Linked DNA regions of Homo sapiens: region 1 is linked to region 2. Evidence: promoter capture Hi-C in 16 types of primary human blood cells and fetal thymus (Javierre and others, 2016). All regions are on one chromosome and are shown on one strand. The core of a region is centred on a gene start or on the middle of the fragment in contact, and the rest is flanking DNA. Distances in the headings are between cores, read along the strand shown. Region 1 overlaps ZC3H3 (zinc finger CCCH-type containing 3). Region 2 holds the start of ZNF696 (zinc finger protein 696).

Region 1 (3,910 bases), core at 894-3,393, 190 kb before region 2:
GCGGGTGCTGTTCTGTGTCTGAGCTTCGTGGTGGTGGGGCCGTGTAGCGGGTGCTGTTCTGTGTCTGAGCTTCGTGGTGGTGGGGCCGTGTAGCGGGTGCTGTTCTGTGTCTGAGCTTCGTGGTGGTGGGGTCGTGTAGCGGGTGCTGTTCTGTGTGTGAGCTTCGTGGTGATGGGGCCGTGTAGCGGGTGCTGTTCTGTGTCTGAGCTTCGTGGTGGTGGGGCCGTGTAGCGGGTGCTGTTCTGTGTCTGAGCTTCGTGGTGGTGGGGCCGTGTAGCGGGTGCTGTTCTGTGTCTGAGCTTCGTGGTGGTGGGGCCGTGTAGCGGGTGCTGTTCTGTGTCTGAGCTTCGTGGTGATGGGGTCGTGTAGCGGGTGCTGTTCTGTGTGTGAGCTTCGTGGTGATGGGGTCGTGTAGCGGGTGCTGTTTTGTGTGTGAGCTTCGTGGTGGTGGGGTTGTGGAGCAGGTGCTGTTTTGTGTGTGAGCTTCTTGGTGGTGGGGTCATGTAGCGGGTGCCATTCTGTGTCTGACTTCTTTTGTTCATCACTTTTCATGGACTGAATTGTGTCCCCCACCAAGTTCATAGATGGAAACCCTAACCCCCAATGTGACTACGTTTGGGGATGGGGTCTTCAAACAGGTAATTGAGGTTAAATGGGATTATACGTGTTTGGCCCTGATCCACTAGGACTAATGTCCTTACAAGAATAAAAAGTGCCACCAGGGGCACATGCCCAGAGGAAAAGCCACGGGAGGACAGTACAAGCCAGGAAGGGAGACCTCACCAGAAACCAGCCTTGCCAGAGCCTCGGTGCGGCCCCAGCCTTGTGAGAAAGTGTGTTTCTGTTGTCGTAGCCGCCCACTGCAGAGCATTCCATGGCAGCAGCCAGGCAGCCGTAGGCGCCCACGTTTCTCACTCCGCTACATTGCCGCGCCTGGCGGGAACTCATTCTTTTTCCCTGCCGTGTGGTGTTCTGTGATATGGATACGCCATGTGTGTCCATCTTGCAGTTGATGGGTGGGTATCTGGAGTCTCTCCCATCCTTGCCAGTTATGAAGCTGCTGTCTTGGGTGTGTCTCTGGGTGCTGGTAGCCCTCGTTTGTGTGGAGTTGCTGCCTCAGAGGGTGATGGACACTGAGCTTTGGAAGCTGTCCCAGGTAGCTGTCCCAGCCTGCCAGCAGCAGCATGTGAGCATTGTGGCTGGCCCGTGGCCTTGGCCAGGATTCTCAGGCCCGTGTCTCCTGTTCTTGCCATGCTGGGGGGTGTGGGGCCTCACGCCCATCCCGCTGGCTGGCATTGCTGGGCATCTTTTTCTTCACTCAGGTCTCCTGGTGGTGCCCTTCTTTACTGTAAAGGGCCTCTTTGGGTGTTGGCCTGTTTTTGTGTGATTTGCCTTTTGGCTGATTTGTGGGAGTTTGTTTTTGTTGTGGATGTTTTCCGCCCCACACGTCTGCTTACAGCGAGGGACCTGCTCTTCCACGGCATCTGGTTTTTTAGCCTTTTATGAGTAGTGCTCTTTGTGTCCTGTTTAAGAAATATTTGTCTATCCCACATTCATGTTTTCTTCTAGAAGCTTGGCTATTTTAGCTTTTATATTTTAAGCCTGAGGCTTCTTGAATTAATTTTTACCTGTGGTCTGAGGTAGGGGCCAGAGTCCTTTTGTCTCCCCATGGAGACACATGTATTGAAATGAGATCCTGACCCACTCAGGTGCAGGGGCGCCTGCGTCACTCGGGTGAGCAGATGTATGGGCTGTTCCCAGACTCTCCATCCTCACTGTTGACCCACTTGTCTGTGCCCTTCGTTATTCCTGAATGCTTACTCTTCCAGACCACCTTAGAAACACTGGACCGGGTTCTCGGCCTCACCAAGGAACCAGCCTCCAAATCATAGATTTGCATTTTCTTCTTCTTAGGATTTCAGCCACACACACAACAAACACTTCAGATCCCTGGCCCCGCCTGCCTCCCTCCTGTTCTCAGCACCAGGGGGACTCATGCTCCATAACTTCCACATGTTGGCCCGGCGCCCCTGCTGTAGAATTTTTCCTCAGTTATTTGAGAGTGTTTCTGGCTTCTCTTCTTTGTATGTTCCAACTGGTGTTTGCCACTGTCTTGCAGGGCTTTGGTTTTCACACATCTTTGCTTCATAATCAGTTCTGGTTACCCCTCTGAAGTGAGTGGGTTTTTATTGTGGTTTTCCCGTGGTTTTTGCAGATACCACTGTCCTTGCAAGGGCCGCATGAAGTTTGCTGAGGTCACCACGCCTTTCCAGGGAGCTGAGCCGGATTTGCTGTGTGGTCTTCGGAGGGGCTGTCCCAGGGCCTGGGAGTGGGGGGATGTCTGCTGTGAGTCTCTTTAGACAGCAGTGACCTGAGGGGTCCTTGAGGGCCTAGGCAGGATTCCTGGCCAGCCTGCCCCTCAGTAGCTGGCACAGACAGAGTGGGTCCTGGGCCGATGACCCAGCCCAAAGGGTGGCACAGGTGCAGAGGGTCGCGGGCCCGCCAAGGACAGCTGCACCTGGCCGCCTGGCACCTCTGCCGGACGAGCTGAACTCGGCACTCCGGGGCCATGAAGTCCCACTAATACTTGTTTTTTTGCAGCTGACATACAAAACACCAATAGCTTCAGCTGAAATGGATTTTTAAAAGTGTCATTTTATGGAGAATTTTACTTTCCATCTTGTTGTTTATTAGGCTCTTAAAGGGAAAGCTTGTAATGCATCCATTGATCGAAATACCAATTGAATAGATGTGAGCACATAAAATACATAAAATAGTCCCAGCCCCTCATAATGGAGCACGACGTTTGTAACGGAGGCAGTGTCATTAGTATTGCCCCCTGCCACCCAGCCAGGCTGCAGAGGCGCCTCCGAATCCTTCTTATTCATTACTGGGGTGAGACGGGGCAGGGATGGCCCTCGGAAGGACCAGTGCCCAGTGAGGAAGTCCTCAGATGTCACAACAGAGCCTCCACCCCACGAGTCAGCCCAGGGGCCGGGGGAGCCAGCCGTGCTCAGCCTCAGCTGGACCAGTCGCACTCAAGGCTGTCCCTGTCCTCAGGGGCCCCCAAACAAGGCTGCTGTCCCTAAGGCTGCATGGCTCTTTCCCCTCATGGCGCCCCTGGCCGCTGGTGCAGGGCTCTCAGCTCCCACCCAGGCCTGTAACCCTGCCTGCCTGCTGAAGGTGTATCCTGGAAAGCCAAGCGGCTGGACGGTCTCTGCAGGCCCCCATACTGGGAGGTAGATGCTGTGGGGGTGACAGCGGGACTAGAGAGCCCATCTGGCCATGGTGCCGGAGCCCCTGCTGAACAGCAGCTACTGCCCCAGGTACCTGGAGGCCCCTTGGAGCTGGTGAGGGCCCCACGGTCTGGGTATAGGGGTTTGGAGGATAGGGGGCCAGACTTGTGAGGAGTAAGTTAGAAGAGGGTTCTTTCTGTGAGATGAGGTGGCCATAGCCATCGTGAGGCCTGCGTGGCCACCACGTAGTCAGATTTCAGCCCTGGCAGCCACAGGCCCTTGAGCATTTAGCCCTGCCCCTGAGATCGTGGGGGCAGGGTCCAGGAGCCGGGAGCCCGCCTAGCACCCCCACTGCACGCCTCTGCTCTGTCTGGCCTGAGCGCCCCTCCCTGCCGGCCCAGCTTGGGCCCCTCCCATGAGGGACTCTGTCTTCCTCCTCCGGAACTCAGGACATTCTGTGAGTGTCTGTCCAGTAGAACCACCTCCCCTGCATTGCCCCAGCCTCACGGGCTGGGCCTCTCCAGCCAAGGGCCCCATGTAGCCTGGCCAACCCATTCGGGGGCCGCAGTGGCTCAGCACCAGGAGAAACCGGGAGGGAGGCTTCCAGCCAGCCCCACACGCGCACACGCATGGACACACATGCATGCTCGCCCTCCCGAGCCAGCACGGTGATG
Region 2 (3,808 bases), core at 220-2,719:
GAAACTGTCAGAACAGGCCCTGTGGGAGCTGCATCACCCAGCTGGGCCCACTCCTGTCACTAGCAATCAAGGTCCTGGCTCAACAGACACTCCCAGAAGCGGGTGTTCTGTTCTGTGGGATGCCCAGGAACTCTGGTCCAGGCTCTGCGGGTCCCCCTCCACCCAGGGCTGACGCAGAGCACAGGTGGGCGTGGCCACAGCTTCCTAGCTCCATGCTGAGGAAGCCCGCGCCCTCCAGCAGTCTTCAAATGTCTAGAGAAATTCCCATGGGTTTTAAAATTTTCTTGGTAGTTATAAGGATTTGAATATAAAAATGTTAAACCAGAAGAAAAGAACAACTTATTTGAATGGTAAAGTTTTGGAATGAGGAATGATTTTTCTAAGCCTGACATCAGATGTCTGACAAATTCAACTACATAAAAAAATTTAATGTAAAAAAAAAAAACCAAAAAGGGAGGAATACGTGCAATGCAAAGATTCATCCCTATCTGATAAAGACCTCTATATATTAATGAGAAAGGAAGGAAAATTGGCAAAGATCATGAATAGGTAACTCACAAAGAAGAAAAACCAGTAGGCAATACATTTTTTTAGGTCTCACCTCAAGTGCAATTAAGAAATGTAATTTGGCTGGGTGCTGTGGCTCACAGTTGTAATCCTAGCACTTCAAAAGGCTCAGGATGGAGGACTGACTGATTACAAGAGTTCCTGACCAGCCTGGGCAACATAGTGAGACCCCGTCTCTACAAAAAATCAAAAAATTAGCCAGGTGTGATGGTGGGCGTCTGTAGTCCCAGCTACTAGGGAGGCTGAGGTGGGAGGACTGCCTGAGCCCAGGAGGTCTAGGCTGGGGTGAACCGAGATTTCGCCACTGCACTCCAGCTGGGCGTTGGAGTGAGACCCTGTCTTAAAAAAATAAGTAAATAAAGTGATTAATTAGTAAATTTAATTTAAGCCGCCTGTAATCCCGCCTGCCAGGGAGGCTGAGCGGGAGGATCGCTTGAGCCCAGGAGTAGGAGGCCAGCCTGGGAAACATAGCGAGACCCCGCCGCTTTTACAAAAAGGTAATTTAAAGTGCAATTTTTTAGTCTGGAAGCAGATTTTTGCAAGTACCTTACCGGCAAGAATTAGGGAACAGGCCCTCCTGTTCACAGCTGGGAAGAAGCTCGATGAGCTGGGCCGGTGGGAAATTTGACAACTTACAAAGGCCTGAAGACGCGCAGCGGGGACTCAGCTCGCAGGAAGCCCCGCACGTGTCGGACCCCGGGTACGCACCTGCAGGGCCGCCTCCCCCACGCCGCGCCCGAGAGCGGCTGGGGCCTGCACTGCAAGGAGAGCGCGGGACGCGCGGGCCACGGCGGCGGTGACCGCCCCGTTCTCTCGGCCGCGCCCTCAGCCCTCCCGAATCGACACCCCAGCAAGAGAAGCCGGGGCCTCAGCGTCCAGAGCAGCTGGACTGCACCCGCTACGGTCCCCGCCCCGTCGCGCGCCGGAAACGCCAGTCTCCACCCCTGGCCCGCCCCCTCGGCACTTCCGGCGACGCTCTGGGCAGCGGGAGGACAGCGCGCTCGGCGGCGGGAGAGCGGGACGGCCCAGCCGCGGCGCCTTCAGCTCATCGGTTGCCCGCAGGCGCCGGCCGAGTCCTTCCTGCCGGGCAGGAAGCCCTGCCTCGTGGGGGGCAAGGTCGAGCCGTTGGCGCGCCGGGATCCGGCTCGAGCCAACTGAGGACCGGGCACCCGCAGGACGTGTCAGGAGGTGTCGAAGGCCCGCTGTGGGGCGGCCACGCGCGTTCCCGTCCGTTCCCCGCGGCGTCCCGCGCTTGTCCCGGGTCCCGCTCGGCTCACGGGACCCTCCAGGCCCCCGGGGCTGTGGCAGCACGCGGGTCCCGAGCGTGGGCTTCCTTGGGGCCGAGAGCTTGGAGCGCCCCAGGCGCTGCCCCCCGCCTCCCTGCAGGACGCCGCCCTCGCGTCTCCGCTGCAGAGAAGCCCTTGCTGCCCGCCTCTCGCGGGCTCTGGGCTCTTTCTCACCAGGGACCGAGCTCTCATTCGTTCAGCCTTCCCCGGGCAAGATGCACCTCCTGTCCAAGTCTCTCGCCCTTCCGCCTGCCGCAGACCGAAGGTCACGCATCTCCAGCTGGAATGCTGCAAAAGTGACGCTTTTCATCATGGGTGCAAAGTGTACAGCTGCAATGTGGACTTGTTCCCTCTTACAACGAGTAGACAGACCCTCTCTGGGGAGAAAAGAAAGGCTGAAGAACCGATTCCCATGAGAGAACCCTAAGAAGACAGCAACAGAGGGCCAGACGCGCCCCTGGAACTGGACCCTGGACTGGGGCGGGAGGGCCACAGCCTTGGGAGCCCAGGTCCCTGCCCGCGCCTCCGACAGTCCCGCGCCGCCGCCACCCGGCATCTGCCTCTGGGCCTCCACATCTCGTGCCTGGAACCGCGTTCATTGCGCACTGCACCAGTAAACACCTGAACACTCCCACCACATGCTGCACGTTTATTTGTAACAAATTAGAAGCTGTTGTAAAAGATAAAAATTAAAACACTTAGACTGGGTGGGCGAGAGGCTCATGAATGTAATCCCAGCACTTTGGGAGGCCAAGGCAGGAGGATTGTTTGAGTCCAGGAGTTTCAGACCAGCCTGAGCAACATAGTTAGAACCGTGTCGACTAAAAATTTTTTTTAAAAATTAGCCGGGCGTGGTGGCCGGCGCCTGTGGTACCAGCTACTCGGGAGGCTGAGGCGGGGGGACCACTTGAGCTCGGGAGGCGGAGGCTGCAGTGAGCCGAGATTGGCACTGCACTCCAGCCTGGGTGACAGAGATTCTGTCGCAAAACAAAAACAACAACAACAACACACACCACACACACACACATCTAAAAGAGATGATGTAGAAGTACAAGTAACCGTTTCCCTCTGCATCCCAGTGGAACGTCGTGGGTCTTCTGAAGACCCTCTCTTGCCCTGCAGGCTCCGGTACTCCAAGCACGCGAGTCTGCGCAGGAGGCGCTTCGCTCTCCGGAGCTCCCCACTGCCTCCTAGACACAGTCCCGGCTCCTTACCCCGGGCGGAGGCTCTTCCAGACGGGTCCCGACTGCCTCTGTATGCCCACTGCTGCCGTGCCAGAAGCCACTGCCCTCTCCTCGCCCCTTTCCAAATGTGCCCTGCCTCAGGCCCGTGTCATGCTGTTCCCTGTGCCGCTTTCGCCCGTCCCCTCACTCCCCGCCACCAGAACCGGGAAGGCGGTGCCCCCTTTCCAGGCCCAACTTCCGGCACTGAACCTCTAGGAGTCCGCAGCCTCCTCCGCCCGGGCCTCTCCCCGCTGGCTCAGACCGCAGGGCCAGCAGCCCCGCCCACACGGAAGCCCCGCCCATCAGGCCGACCCCGCCCCTCCTGCCTCGGCCCCGCCCTCGCCTTGGCCCCGCCTCCTCGCTGGCAGCCGGCAGGCGCAGTCGGGGTCGTGGGACCCAGGAGGGGCCTCCAGCAGGTGCCTTGGCGAAGATCCTGGACTGCGTCACAGCCCAGGGTAGCCGTCCCGCGGCCCGGCTTTGGAGCTTCCCACGGACACCCGGGGCTCTGCCTCCTCCGAAATCACCCCTCACCGCTTCCCTCCTGCTCTCCCACAATGGGAGGCCACACGCTGGGGCCCCTGAGAAACAGAATCGAAAACACAAGGCAGGACTCCAGGGACATGGGGGTGGGGGAGTGAATCCAAGCAACTCAGGACGCCCGCGAATAGCTCAGATCCTGCGAAGAGCCCGCGCCCTGGAATTCTGTTTGCTAAGGGGGTCCTCACGGTGTAG

What was found. The method cuts DNA at HindIII sites, captures the fragments that hold promoters and counts their contacts. A CHiCAGO score of 5 or more calls a contact.
Region 1: a fragment that was not itself captured here is called in contact with the fragment with the promoter of ZNF696 in region 2 in 1 of 17 cell types (M1 macrophages); the score reaches 5.6 in M1 macrophages.

The regions. Positions count from the first base shown.
Region 1 is chr8:143,483,253-143,487,162 of GRCh38, reverse strand. The region is part of intron 4 of ZC3H3 (zinc finger CCCH-type containing 3); the gene reads left to right. Among named protein-coding and RNA genes, the nearest start is that of SNORD149, 21 kb to the left of the region's middle. The HindIII fragment of the contact is 1,138 bases long and covers 1,575-2,712 here.
Region 2 is chr8:143,289,078-143,292,885 of GRCh38, reverse strand. ZNF696 (zinc finger protein 696) reads right to left here and starts at 1,469. Exons shown (of 3, transcript NM_030895.3): 1 at 1,119-1,469. RefSeq lists a silencer at 1,215-1,934 and an enhancer at 1,405-1,980. The HindIII fragment of the contact is 14,284 bases long and covers 1-3,808 here.